Linked DNA regions of Homo sapiens: region 2 is linked to region 1. The links are contacts of gene promoters, found by promoter capture Hi-C in human tissues and cell types (Jung and others, 2019). All regions are on one chromosome and are shown on one strand. Each heading gives the region's core, a stretch centred on a gene start or on the middle of the fragment in contact. The rest is flanking DNA. Distances are from core to core; before and after follow the strand shown. Region 1 holds the start of TXNRD1 (thioredoxin reductase 1). Region 2 has its middle 24 kb from the start of CHST11.

Evidence for each region. Contacts are between HindIII fragments. The study calls those that stand out against the background at their distance.
Region 2: a fragment that was not itself captured here is called in contact with the fragment with the promoter of TXNRD1 in region 1 in 2 of the 25 tissues and cell types used here (bladder and heart left ventricle).

Annotation. Positions count from the first base shown.
Region 1 is chr12:104,211,598-104,218,545 of GRCh38, reverse strand. TXNRD1 (thioredoxin reductase 1) reads right to left here and starts at 2,767. Exons shown (of 17, transcript NM_001093771.3): 1 at 2,653-2,767. The coding sequence starts at 2,743. RefSeq lists enhancers at 1,759-2,374, 2,375-2,991 and a silencer at 2,815-2,904. The HindIII fragment of the contact is 11,252 bases long and covers 1-6,948 here.
Region 2 is chr12:104,429,836-104,436,797 of GRCh38, reverse strand. No RefSeq gene overlaps it. Among named protein-coding and RNA genes, the nearest start is that of CHST11, 24 kb to the left of the region's middle. RefSeq lists an enhancer at 468-637. The HindIII fragment of the contact is 3,140 bases long and covers 193-3,332 here.

The DNA of each region.
Region 1 (6,948 bases), core at 1,518-4,017:
TTTCAAAAAGTAAATGTAAATAGGTGAAATTCTTCTATGCTGTTAGAAATCAGAGTAGTGTTTGCCCTTGGTATGGGGGTAAGAGACATTAGAGGGGCTCCTGGGGTACTGGAAACGTTTATTTCCTCAGCTGAGTGTGGGCTGCATGCATATACTTCGTTTGTAAAAATTTAGCAAGTTGTATTATAACGAGTGAGCTTTTCTGTATTATAAAATAGTTCAGGCCGGGCGTGGTGGCTCAAGCCTGTAATCCCAGCACTTTGGGAGGCTGAGGCGGGAAGATCACGAGGTCAAGAGTTCAAGACCAGCCTGGCCAACATGGTGAAACCCCGTCACTACTAAAAATACAAAGATTAGCTGGGCATGGTGGCGGGCCTGTAATCCCAGCTATTTGGGAGACTGAGGGAGGAGAATTGCTTGAACCCAGGAGGCGGAGATTGTGGTGAGCCAAGATCATGCCACGGCACTCCAGCCTGGCGATAGAGCAAGACTCCATCTCGGGAAAAAAAAAATGTGGTGTGTGTGTGTATATATATTCCATTTTGTGTGTGTGTGTGTGTATATATGTGTGTGTGTATGTACATATACACACACACAATGGAATATTATTCAGCCTTAAAAAGTAAGGAAATCCTGTCGCATGCTACAATACAGATGAAACTCGAAGACAAGTATGCTAAGTGAAACAAGCCAGTCACAAAAAGACAGACACTGTATGATACCAACTTATATAAGCAATCTAAAGTAGCCAAATTTCACAGAAACAGAAAGTAGAATGATGGATACCAGGGGCTGGGGGAAACGGCAAATGAAAAGTTAACGAGTTGGCATGGAGTTTCAGATTTGCAAGATGAAAAAGTTCAGGGGATCTGCTTCACAACAATGTGAATATACTTAATACTGCTGAAAACTGTATACTTAAAAACGGTTAGGGTCAGCTGGGTGCAGTGGCTCATGCCTGTAATCCCAGCACTTTGGGGAGCTGAGGTGGGCAGATCACCTGAGGTCAGGAGTTCAAGACCAGCCTGACCAACATGGTGAAAACCTGTCTCTATTAAAAATACAAAATTAGCCAGGCGTGGTGGTGCATGCCTGTAATCCCAGCTACTTGGGAGGCTGAGGCAGGAGAATCGCTTCAACCTGGGAGGTGGAGGCTGAGGTGAGCCAAGATGGCGCCATTGCACCCCAGCCTGGGCAACGAGAGCGAAACTAAAAAAAAAAAAAAAACAAAATTGTTAAGATGGTAAATTTTTTTTTTTTAACCACACACAAAAAGAATGTAGCTAAAGAAAAACAGTAAATAAATGGAAGGACATAGATATCAAGAAGATCCTGAGGATGGCACATGAAACGTCAATTTGGGATGCACCTGCTCAAACTCCTTCATTGTACTAATGGCCACAAATTAGCTGCCTGACCTGGACCTTGCCTGACCTTGCTCCTACCCTGTTCCTTTATTCTTCCCTTCCCCTAATCCAAGTCCTTAACTCCAGCAGGATATACAGGCCTCCCTATCTCTAGCATGGTCTCACCGGCTGCTTCCCCTAACAAGAATGTTCTCCCTTCAGACACCTCTACCAAATCCTACCTCATCTATGGGAGCTGCCATCCCCACTTGGCTGTTTTTACCACTCCTTTTAGCCCTTCACCATATGCTGCCTTGTAACTAAACTGTAAGCCTTTGAAAGAGGCAGATCCTACAGCATTTAATAATTCTAGCCATTGGGCAAGGCACTTTTTGGAGCCTCACTTTCTCAAGCCTATAAAAAAGGTGGAGGCGGCCATATGACTATGACCAGGGCTTTTGAGTCAGATGGCCTCAACTGGTATCCCAGCTCTTCCACTTACTAGTTGTGTGCTTTGGGTAAGTTTTATAACCTCTTTGCTTCTCAGTTTCTTCATCTGTATAATGGGGTTTATGATAAATCTCTCAGTATGGCTGGAAACATGAACCAAGATTATTACCCATGTCTAGTGCTTCCAAAGGCCCCTCTCATGTCAGTGCTTAGTAACCACTAGCCATTATTGGCATTATCCGGACAATGGAGAAGAGACTGGGAGCTTTCTCTTCTGGAAGAACAAGTGAAAGGATAAAGCGGGATGATGGTGGGAGAAATGTGCCCAAAATTCAAGGGGATGGAGAAAGGGGGCCGGGAAGGCGTGTCGGACAAGATTCTCGATGGAGGAGGATGCTGGGAGTGGGCCGGGGGCTTCTGGAGAGGTGAAGGGGCACCCCCGGACTCGGCTGTCGGTTTGGTCGCTTCCCCCGTAACCTTTCATTGGAAACACGGTGCTTGTAGGAAGAGGACGCCCTAACGGGCCCTGAGCGAAATCAGGCGGGTCGCTGCCGAGATCTCGGTTCGGTTTCCGACAGGTTTCCGGGCAGGTCCTCGCGGCGGGCCCGCTCCTCCTTCCACCTCCCACCTCTCTCACAGCCAGCGGGCGGGGCAGCCCTCGGCCGGCCGCCGGCCTCCGTCTCCCGGGGTGACCTGGGGGAGCGTTTCTGGGGTCTCCAGCGTGGCGCGCGGTCAGTCACTGACTCCAGTGAGGGGCTTCAAGGCCAGGGCTCCGGGGCACTTTATCCCCAACCCCGGCCGGAAGGCCCGCTTCGGCCCGTCGACCTGGGGACCAGGCCTTCGCCCTCGGTCGTACCTGACCTACGGCGGCCATCGCCGTTCTTGCCTTTCGTCTGCAGCTCCGTTGGGGCGGCCGCCGCCACTGCCTTGCCCTCGGCGCAGCCCATGTCGCACAAGGCCCTGTGGGAACTGACGGAGCCGAAGGACGCCTGGCGGAGGCCGCGAGCCCCCTGCCGGCCGCGGGTCGGAGAACGCGGTGGGCGGGGCGCTCGGTGACAACAGCGAAGTCATAGCCCGTGTATCTTCTTCAAGGTCGTGAATTTTTTTTTTTTAACAGGAAAGAACGGTCGCTAAAGGTAAATTGGAAAATGCAGAAATGGAAAGGAGAAAAGAGCGCACCACCCAAAATCCTTATCCTTCGGCTGGGCGCGGTGGCTTACACCTGTGCACTTTGGGAGGCCGAGGTGGGAGGATTGATCGCTTGAGCCCAGGAGTTTGAGACCATCCTGGGCAATGTAGAGAAACCCTGTTTCTACAAAAAATAATTTTAAAAAATTTATCCTTCACACAAACTACTTTTGCTGTGTTTACTATTTCTTTCCAGTTTTTCCCCTCTATGCATAGTTTTGCATCCAGCATTTCACTTAATACTAGTATTTTCCATACTATCACATAGTCTTGTAAGCCTCCCAGATAACCACCTGGCTTCCACTGTCACTTCAGTCTTTGCCTCTTTGACCGTAGATGAAGCATACACTGAACATCGTAGTTTCTTTTTAATACACTTTATTTTTTAGAGCAGTCTTTTTTTTTTTTTTTTTTTGAGACGGAGTCTCACTCTGTCACCCAGGCTGGAGTGCAGTGGCGCGATCTCAGCCCACTGCAACCTCTGCCTCCCAAGTTCAAGCGATTCTCCTGCCTCAGCCTCCCGAGTAGCTGGGACTACAGGCGTGTGCCACCATGCCCAGCTAATTTTTTGTATTTTTAGTAGAGACGGGGTTTCACCGTGTTAGGCAGGATGGTCTCGATCTCCTGACCTTGTGATCCGCCCGCCTCGGCCTCCCAAAGTGCTGGGATTACAGGCGTCAGCCACTGCGCCTGGCCTTAGAGCAGTCTTAAGTTCACAGCAAAAAGACCATCCTATTTGAACAGAAATCTGATCACGCCCCCCTCAACTCTACCCCCACCCTTTACTTTACTCTATTTTATTTTTACCAGCACTGAGAGCCTTCTAACTTACCCTATATTCTCTGTCACCTGCTCCCACTCCCTCCGCCAGCCTCCCCACGACACCCTGCCCATGTAAACGCTGCCAAAATAGAACCTTTGCATTTTTTTCTTGTATCTTGGCCTTCAGCTTGGGCCAGGTGGCCTCCCCCACCTCTTGAAGGAAAGCAGGGAAGAAGCGGGAAAATATTAATTTGAATAATTATAATAATGTAATAGTCCATCCACTAGAGCTACTGGACGATTACATAGCCTATTATTAGATGTTTAGTTTGTTTTTTATTTTTAAAAATTATGAATAAGGCTGCAGGGAACATCTTTGTGTTTATAGTTTTAAGGCTGTCATTACACGTTGCCAAAATTGCTTTTTTGGAACTGTGGTTCCCATTTGAACTCCTACTAGTAATGAATGAGAGTGATTTTTTTTAACACCAAACCACATTGCGGCACATCAGGTGCACAGTCACTGTTCTCTATCAGTGCAGTGCTCTGTTTTTCCTTCTTTCAATTAACTAACATATGGTAAGCATCCAACTTATGCCTGGCTTTGTTTAGGGTTACAAGGTGACTCAAATTCCCTGGTCTCAAGGAACTTCCACCCCAGCTGAGATTTAGTGAACTTGTCTGGTCACCAGATGCGTGGCAATTGTGTGGGCCCTTTGTTTTCATTTGGGTTTGTGGACAAGCTTATATCCTGCTTCTCTGGAGAGCAGCCCAGAGTCAAAATGCTCTTGGAAAACACTGGGTGTTTATTTGCTTAAACACAGAAAACAAATAAAACTGAACCAAAGGCTTTTTTTTTTTTTTTTTTTGGAGATGGAGTCTCGCTCTGTTGCCCAGACTGGAGTGCAGTGGCACGATCTCGGCTCACTGCAAGCTCCGCCTCCCGGGTTCACGCTATTCTTCTGCCTCAGCCTCCCTAGTAGCTGGGACTACAGGCGTCCACCACCACGCTAATTTTTTTTGGTATTTTTAGTAGAGACGGGGTTTCACCATGTTAGCCAGGATGTTCTCAATCTCCTGACCTTGTGATCCACCCACCTCAGCCTCCCAAAGTGCTGGGATTACAGGCATGAGCCACCGTGCCCGGCCACCAAAGGCTTTTAATAACAGACATTGCACAAAGCTAAAGTAAATCTCTCTCTCTCTCTTTCTTTTTTTTTTTTTTTTTTTGAGATGGAGTTTTGCTCTTGTTGCCCAAGCTAGAGTGCAATGGCACAATCTTGGCTCACTGCAACCTCCACCTCCCAGGTTCAAGTGATTCTCCTGCCTCAGCCTCCCAAGTAGCTGGGATTACAGGCATCAGCCACCATGCCTGCCTAATTTTTTGTATTTAGTAGAAAAAGGGTATCACCATGTTGGTCAATCTGGTATCAAACTCCTGACCTCAGGTGATCCACCTGCATCAGTCTCCCAAAGTGCTCGTATTACAAGTGTGAGCCACCGTGCCCGGCCCTAAAGTAAATCCTAATAACAACTTCATCCAAGTGTTTGGTGTCTGTAGTAACTAATGCAACTAAGCCAGGACCCTTTAAAAGCAAAGTTCCCTCCCTCTGCGAGCCAGGTCTACAGTTCCTTGGTTCCACTGGAATGACTGTTTCAGAGATTTTTTTTTTAAATATGCTATTCAATTTATGTTAAAATTACCATTTTATCATCAAAATTCCAACTGTGGCTGTCATGTATTTTTCTCTATTTAGTACATGTATTTAACTAAGATGATGGCTTTCCTGTTATTTTAAACACCTAGGCAAAAGTATCTGAGAGTCATGTGCCTACCTGTGTCATCCTATCATATTTATAATAGCCAACAATTTGTTGGGTACTTACGGCGAGCCAGGCATCCTGCTAAGTCCTTTACTGGCATAAAAGTATGCTTATCTCATGTTTTTCCTGCAAGAGCCACATTTAGAAGGGTCTCTTATTATTCCTATTTTACAGAGGAGAATCCTGATGCTTAGGGGATTAATTGCACAGGATCACACAGCTTGATACTGAAATCCAGGTTTCCTAATTTCCAAGCCTCTGCTCTTAACCACTAACCTCTCTTATTACTATGACATCACACTCCACTAATTCCTATACATGAAAAGAATGTTTCCCTGGGAACTTTGTTTTGAGATTTAATTTTTTTAATTTTTTTTTTTTTTATGAGATGGAGTCTCACTATGTCGCCCAGGCTGGAGTGCAGTGGTGAGATCTTGGCTCACTGCAAGCTCCTCCCGGGTTCACGCCATTCTCCTGCCTCAGCCTCCTGAGTAGCTGGGACTACAGGCGCCCGCCACCACACCCAGCTAATTTTTTTTTATTTTTAGTAGAGACGGGTTTCACCGTGTTAGCCAGGATGGTCTCGATCTCCTGACCTCGTGATCCCCCCGCCTTGGCCTCCCAAAGTGCTGGGATTACAGGCTTGAGCCATCGCACCCGGCCTAATTTTTTTTTTTTTTTTGAGATGGAGTCTCACTCTGTCACCCAGGCTGGAGTGCAGTGGTGCCGTCTTGGCTCACTGCAACCTCCACCTCCCGGGTTCAAGCAGTTCTCCTGCCTAGCCTCCTGAGTAGCTGGGACTATAGGTGCACGCCACCACACCTGGCTACTTTTTTGTATTTTTAGTAGAGATAGGGTTTCACCATGTTGGCCAGGCTGGTCTTGAACTCCTGACCTTAGGTGATCCACCCGCCTTGGCCTCCCAAAGTGGCGTGAGCCACTGCACCTGGCCATTGAGTTTTAATTTAATTATACATGATTTGTTTAAAGAGCATCAAAAGGGAGGGCATCTCTTTTCTTTTTTTGAGACAGAGTCTCACTCTGTCGCCCAGGCTGGAGTGCAGAGGCACACTTTCAGCTCACTGCAACCTCCATCTCCCGGGTTCAAGCAATTCTCCTGCCTCAGCCTCCTGAGTAGCTAGGATTACAGGTGCATGCCACCACACCCAGCTAATTTTTTATATTTTTGGTAGAGACGGGGTTTCATCATGTTGGCCAGGCTGGTCTCAAACTCCTGACCTCAGATGATCCACCCACCTCGGCCTCCCAAAGTGCTGGGATTACAGGCGTGAGCCACCATGCCTGGGGGAGGGCATCTCTTTTCTACCCAATAATAATTAATTCCCAGTCCTCATCTTACTTGGCCTATCCATGACAT
Region 2 (6,962 bases), core at 513-3,012, 220 kb before region 1:
CCTTCCTTTTGTTTCTGCAGTGAAGCTTTTTTTTTTTTTTTTTTTTTTTTTTTTTTTTTTTTTTTTTGAGACAGAGTCTCACTCTGTCGCCCAGGCTGGAGTGCACGGGCATGATCTCGGCTCACTGCAACCTCTGCCTCCCGGGTTCAAGCGATTCTCCTGCCTCTCAGCCTCCCAAGTGGCTGGGATTACAGGTGCATGCCACCACGCCCAGCTAATTTTTGTATTTTTGGTAGAGACAGGGTTTCACCATTTTGGCCAGGCTGGTCTTGAACTCCTGACCTCAGGTGATCCGCCTGCCTCAGCCTTCCAAAGTGCTGGGATTGCAGGTGTGAGCAACCGCGCCCGGCCAGCAAAGCTTTTCAATAAACTTTCACTCCTGCTCTAAAACTTGCCTCAGTCTCTCCTTTTACTGTCTGCCCCTTGGTCAAATTCTTTCTTCTAAAGAGGCAAGAACTGAGGTTGCTGCAGACCCCTACAGATTCGCCTCTGGTAACATCCCAACTCAAGAACATAAGCTTCATCAGGCCAGGGACCTCAGCTGTTTTGTTTAGAGTTAATTCTCCACACTGGCATAGAGTTGGTACTCCATAAATACTTGTTAAATAAATGAATGAGCTTATCAATTAGTTTTTCTCATCAACACATTTGAAATTGAATTTATCAATTTGTTTTATCATTAGTATTCCTGAGCTTCCCACGGAGATGCTACTGCTGTCTTTGGACAATTTCTTTGCTGCTGAGATAAGGAAAGGACTCATTTTCCCTGAGGCCTCATCAGGAGAGGAGGGAGAAGACTTCAAAGGAAGCTCCGACTTCACTGCCTGAACTGGCCCTAAAGGAAAGGGGAAGAGAAAGATCAGGAAGGTTTTTGCAGCCTTTTGTGCTACCATGCTGTCTGGAAGTTTCTGAGCTGGGTCTCTGGGTGGCGGCTGCAGCTCCTGGGCAAGGTGGGCTGTAGCAGTCAAGACCAGTCTCCTTCCTAGTTCTACCACTTACTGGCTGTGTCAGTGTAGCATTAGGCAAGTCCCTTAAACACTCAGTGCCTCAGTTTCCACATTTGTAAGTTGACACAAATAGTGACAGCTCCTTCATCACAGGCTGTTGTGTTGATTAAATTAGTTAAAATATGTAAAGTGCCTTTTAAGCTGAATATATAATAAGCTTTCAGTCAATGAAATCGTTATTCTTAGACGCCAGGCACTTCGAGTATACTTTCTCTAAGTCTCCCAGATAACCTTGAAAAGGTAGCCATTTAACTGACAAAATAGAGGCTTGGAGAGAGCAAGTTTTTTGGCCCGAAGAACTCCAGGGCTCCTTATACCTAATCACCCCCGTAATGTGGCTGAACCCCCTGAAAACCACCTGGAATAAGTTCTGGTTTCAGGGGCAGGACTACCGTCTTGATGTGCTAACTCAGCAGGTATGACCTGAGTGGCCATCACACTGGCTTATTTGGCTAAAACAAAAGTTCTTAACTTGTACTAAGACTTTACCCTGAGCTTAACCCTGGGATAGGCACTGCAGATGCCAAAGGTGCAGGAAATCAGCCCTTGCCCTGAGGAAGCTCACAGATCACGGGGGAGACAGGTGTGCAGACCAAGCCCCCAACATTTCAGTAAACAGTGGCCAGTGCTCTGCCAGGGGCCATGTAAGGCTTCCTAGAGGAAAGGAAAGGATGTCAGACTTCAGTCTAGAAGGATGAGCAGAAAATAAAGAAGCAAAAATGTGGGTGGGAGTAAGGAAGAAGAAGGATGGATCTGGGAAGAAAGAGCTTCCCAAAGAAAGGGAACTGAAGGGACAAAGGTACAAACGTGTGGAGCAGGGATCTTTGTGTCGGTCACTGCTAAATCTCCTAGAATGATGGCACATAGCAGGTGACCAATAAACGCTTGCTGATTGAATAGGAAACCAAGGGAAATTAGGCATTATTGTTTGCAGAGACAAATGAGACTCAGAAAGGCTAGTTTTCCCAAGGTTCACAGAGCTGGTAAGTAGAGTATCCAGGACATGAATCCAGCACTTTTGACTGTGAGCTGCACACAGACATAAAATAATAGTAAAATGGTAAAAAGTGGAGCTACCCAAACCAGGAGGAAAAAAAAAAATCCTCTGTCAACTCCAGAATGGATAAATAAAATGTGGTGCAGTCCAGGCACAGTGGCTCAAGCCTGTAATCCCAGCACTTTGTGAGGCCGAGGCAGGTAGATTACTTGAGCACAGGAGTTTGAGACCAGCCTGGGTTACATGGAGAAATCACATCTCTAAAAAAAAAAAAAAAAGAAAGAAAGAAAGAAAAAAAAAATTAGCCAGGTGTGGTGGTGCATGCCTGTAGTCCCAGCCACTCAGGAGGCTGATGTGGGAGGATTGATAGAACCTGGGAGGCGAAGGCTGCAGTGACCCTGGGCAACACAGTGAGACCCTGTCTCCAAAAAAAAAAAAAGGGTGGTATAGTCACACAATGGAATACTATACAGGAAAGAAAATGAAGGAAAAACTGTCACAGGCAACCACAAGAATGAATCTCACAAGCACCATGTGGAGGAAAGAAGCAGCCACAAAAAATTACACAGGCTATGGTTCAAGCATGTGAAGTTTATAAGCAGGCAAATCTTTTTTTTTTTTTTTTTTTAGATAGAGTCTTGCTCTGTTGCCCAGGCTGGAGTGCAGTGACCTGATCTTGGCTCACTGCAACCTCTCCCTCCCAGGTTCAAGCAATTCTCCTGCCCAACCTCCCAAGTAGCTGGGATTACAGGCATGCGCCACCATGCCTGGTTAATTTTTGTATTTTTAGTAGAGATGGGATTTCACCATGTTGGCCAGGCTGGTCTCGAACTCCTGACCTCAAGTGATCTACTTGTCTCAGCCTCCCAAAGTGCTGGGATTACAGGCCTGAGCCACTGTGCCCGGCCATAAACAGGCAAATCTAACCCATGATGTACCAAGTCAGCAATTACCTTTGGGAAGGAGGAGGGGGTTAGAGGTTGTGCAGGATCCCAGGGTGGCTTCCAGGGAGCTGAGCAGGCTCACCTGGTCACACAGGTGTGCTCCCCTGTGATAACTCATTGAGGGGCACACTTACGGTTCGTGCATTTTTCTCTATGTTATATTTCTGTTTAAAAGTTTTATATTTTAAGTGGGGATGTCTATACTTTGCTTTAAAATTGGTTTCAGGATCAGTATTCCAGAAGATGTCTGTGATCACCCAGGTTGAAATTTAAATGAGCGAATGCCCCAAAAGCACTTAGCATGATGTCTGGAATGGTGGACTCTCCTCCATAAACACTAACAGTTGTTATTATTACTATTATTATGTCTTTCACTTTCCAAACGGGAGCGGATAATTTTTTAAAGCACGCCGCAACACAGGTGCACCTCAAGCACCAGGAGTCCACCTTAAACAGGGGCAGTAGAAAAATAAGGGCAAAATCCCCCACCGCTGGGCCCATCCAGCACCAAAGCTAATGCAGTTTGCCCGCATGGCCATATGCCATGGGAGGGCCAAGCTGCCTGCCAAGCTCCAGCGCGGCCCAGATCCTTTCCCAGGTCCATCTGTCTTTCTTTGCCCTTTTTTTCCATTACCCTGCACAGGATACCTTTTCATAACATGAGGCTCCTGGACTCAGACTGACCACAGGCGCTTGTGTTTTTAGGGAAGGAAGGCGGAGCAGCTGCTTGGAGCTGCTGGCCACAGTTGTGGGGAACACATTGTCCTATAGCTCACCGACTCCCTTCTCAGTTCCCTTGTCATTTGGTGCAATCCCCCCAGCCCTTCTCGTCCTCGCCAGGCACCTACACCCCATCCTGGGCTTGTGTCTTCCTGCCAATGACACCCAACCCTGTGTCCTACCCCAGGACTGCTGCCCTGTCCCACCTCCTCCTCATACACTATAGTCATATGTTCATACATGCACACACATGCTCAGTCACACTCATATTCACTTCCACCCCATGCTTACACATACACGTGCTCACACACATTCTCATGCATGCTCACTCTCACTTATCAAGAACAACTCACAACAAAGAAATGTCCCTTGAACACCAGAAAAGCCTTGTGAATCCGGGGCAGAGTTTCTGAAAACACGGTCTGAACATCATCCCATCATTGTCCTATGTCACAGTCATCTGCAGTGGAAAACTTCATATCCTCCTCAGCCAAGCCCTAGACTGACTGAAACAGCATCTGTGGCAGCATAGCCCAGGAATCTGTAGCTTAACAAGTCACGGGTGGTTTTTACAATGAACCTGAGAGCAGGAGAAAAGGCAGGAGGGGGTGACAGGGTGCAGGCACCAAATGCTTCTGAGGTAGGGGTGCAGAGGCGAATGTGAGTCCACACCCCTGAGCCACAGAAGCCCCCAACTCTGCTCTAGGCATAACGGAGATGGGTCTGGCTGGGCTCAGAAGAGTCTGGCTATTGGCTGCAGGACTAGAGAGCGAGGCAGAGGCTCACTTTTTCCTCTTCAGTCGTGGGAACAAAGTGCCCAAAGACCAGAAAAGGGCAGATGTAGCTCTACAATAAGGTTACTTTCATTATCCTGGGAACTTCCGACAGGGGTTGAATATTAGATTGCTCAGTTATCTGTCGCTGGATAACCAACCATTCCAAAATGTAATGGCTAAAATGACAACCATTGTATTACATCTCACAATTCTGTGGGTTGACCAGCTGGCTCATTTCTGCTGCTCTTACCCAAAGTGTTTTGTATGGCTTCAGTGAGGTGGCAGCCAGGGCTGGAACATTCAGCATGGCTTTGCTCATATGTCTGGCACCATGGTGGGGATGGTTGGAAGGCTCTCTCCACGTGCCTTCTCCACACAGCTAACCTGGGCTTGGCTCTCTCCACGTGACCGCTCCACACAGCTAACTTGGGCTTTGCATGGCAGCTGGGTCTCAAGAGTGAGCATTCCACAAGAAGTCCTACTTCCTCACCCCAGATACAAAAGGATACAGTCATGGGTCACTCAATGACAGGGATACATTCTAAGAAGTGTATAGTTAGGCAATTTCATTATTGTATGAACATCATAGAGTGTACTTACACAAACCAAGATGGTCTAGCCTGGGAGCAATAGGCTGTATCACGCAGCCTAGGTGTAGACCTAGGTGTAGACCTAGGCTACGTGATACAGCCTACTACACCTAGGCTATCTGAGACAGTCTACTGCTCCCAGACTACAAAACTGTACAGCACGTGACTACTGAATACAGTAGGCAATTTTAACACAATGGTAAGTATTTGTGTATCTAAACATATCTAAACATAGAAAAGGCACAGGAAAAATACAGTATTAAAATCTTATGGAACCACTGTCATATATATGCAGTCCATCATTGATTGAAATGTCATTATGTGATGCATGACTGTACATATGATTGCATTATATTAAATTCTAGAAAATGCAAACTAATCTATAGTAGCAGAAAGCAGATCAATGACTGGGAACAAGGGTGGGGTGTAGAGAGAAATGGATTATATATACAAGGGCATGAGGAAGCTTTTGGAGGTGATAAGTATGTTCATTATCTTGACTGTGGTGATGGTTTTGCAGATGTACGATTATATCAAAACTCATCAAATTATGCAGTTTATTGTATATCAGTTATACCTCAATAAAGCTTTAATAGAAAAATAATAATATGCAAAACATAGAAAATATATATTGAAAATATGTTTTCTACTGCAAAGAGCTGCCCAAAACAAGTATATATATTTGTTTTGGGCAGCTCTTTGCAGCAGAAAATGTATTCTTGAGTTTCATCATTTATAAGCCTTACAAATACTAAGACGTGTATTGGCAAAATCTGTTGACACATCAACCTAGACAGAGAAGATACTGCTTTTCAGTTTATTGCATGAACCTCTTCAGCATCATGCGACATCCCATCAATACATTGATTGATATTGTATTCCCTGAGAGTGAAACCTTTCCAATCCCTCATACTGCATCTTGTCCTGGCAATTTACTCACTGAAATTTTACAGGCATTATTAGGTTCTCACTACCTGTGTGGCCTTCCCTTTTCTGGCCAATAAGTTCTGCTACTAGATCTTGCTTCCTGTGCCTGAGGGTGGATTTTTAACAAAAGCTTTCCACTCTTTGAGATTCCAATTGCCATTTAAAATAGCCTCTTACCTTACCAATAGCAGTGGCCTGTAGGTCAGTGTGTTTTCAGTCTGCCAGGCCACTGTTGCACTTGTGAGTTGTTTGCCACAGAGACACACGGTGGGGCAGGTGGAGGGGGGGTAGGACCACGTGGATCACCAGCCTGCACAAAGCTCATTGAAGAGTGGCTTTCATCACAAGGAGCAGCTTCTCTGTGTCCTGAAGACTGTCGCCTTAGTCACTTCTGGCTGCTATAACAAAAATACCATAGATTGGGTGGCTTAAACAGCATTTATTCCTCAGAGTTCTTGAGGCTGGAAGTCTGAGATCAGGATGCCAGCATAGATGGTAAGAACTCTTTTCCGAGTTTGCAAATGGCTGCCTTCTTGCTGTATTCGCTTGTAACAGAGGGAGAGAGATTATCTCTCTCAGTGTCCATTTTTATAAGGACACGAATCCCGTTCATGAGGGGTCCACCCTCATGACCTAATCACCTCCCAAAGCCCCCACCTCCAGATACTATTACACTGGGGTTAGGTAGGGCTTCATATGTGAATTTTGGCCAGAGATACAGGCATTCAGTCCATAGAAACTGTAATTCCTCATTGATGACTTCAGTTTCAGGTCCTATGTGTGATTTTCCATCACTGATTTTACCAGGACTGTCTGTAGGTCTAGACCTGGAACTTTCCTCCATCACATCATACATCATCTTCACAACTCACCACTTGACCCTCAAAAGAAATTGTAAACACAAATGTTAATAAAATACAAAATAAAAAGCACAAGAAGTCCGAGTGCCATGGCTCACACCTGTAATCCCAGGAGTTTGGGAGGCCGAGGCGGGTGGAAAG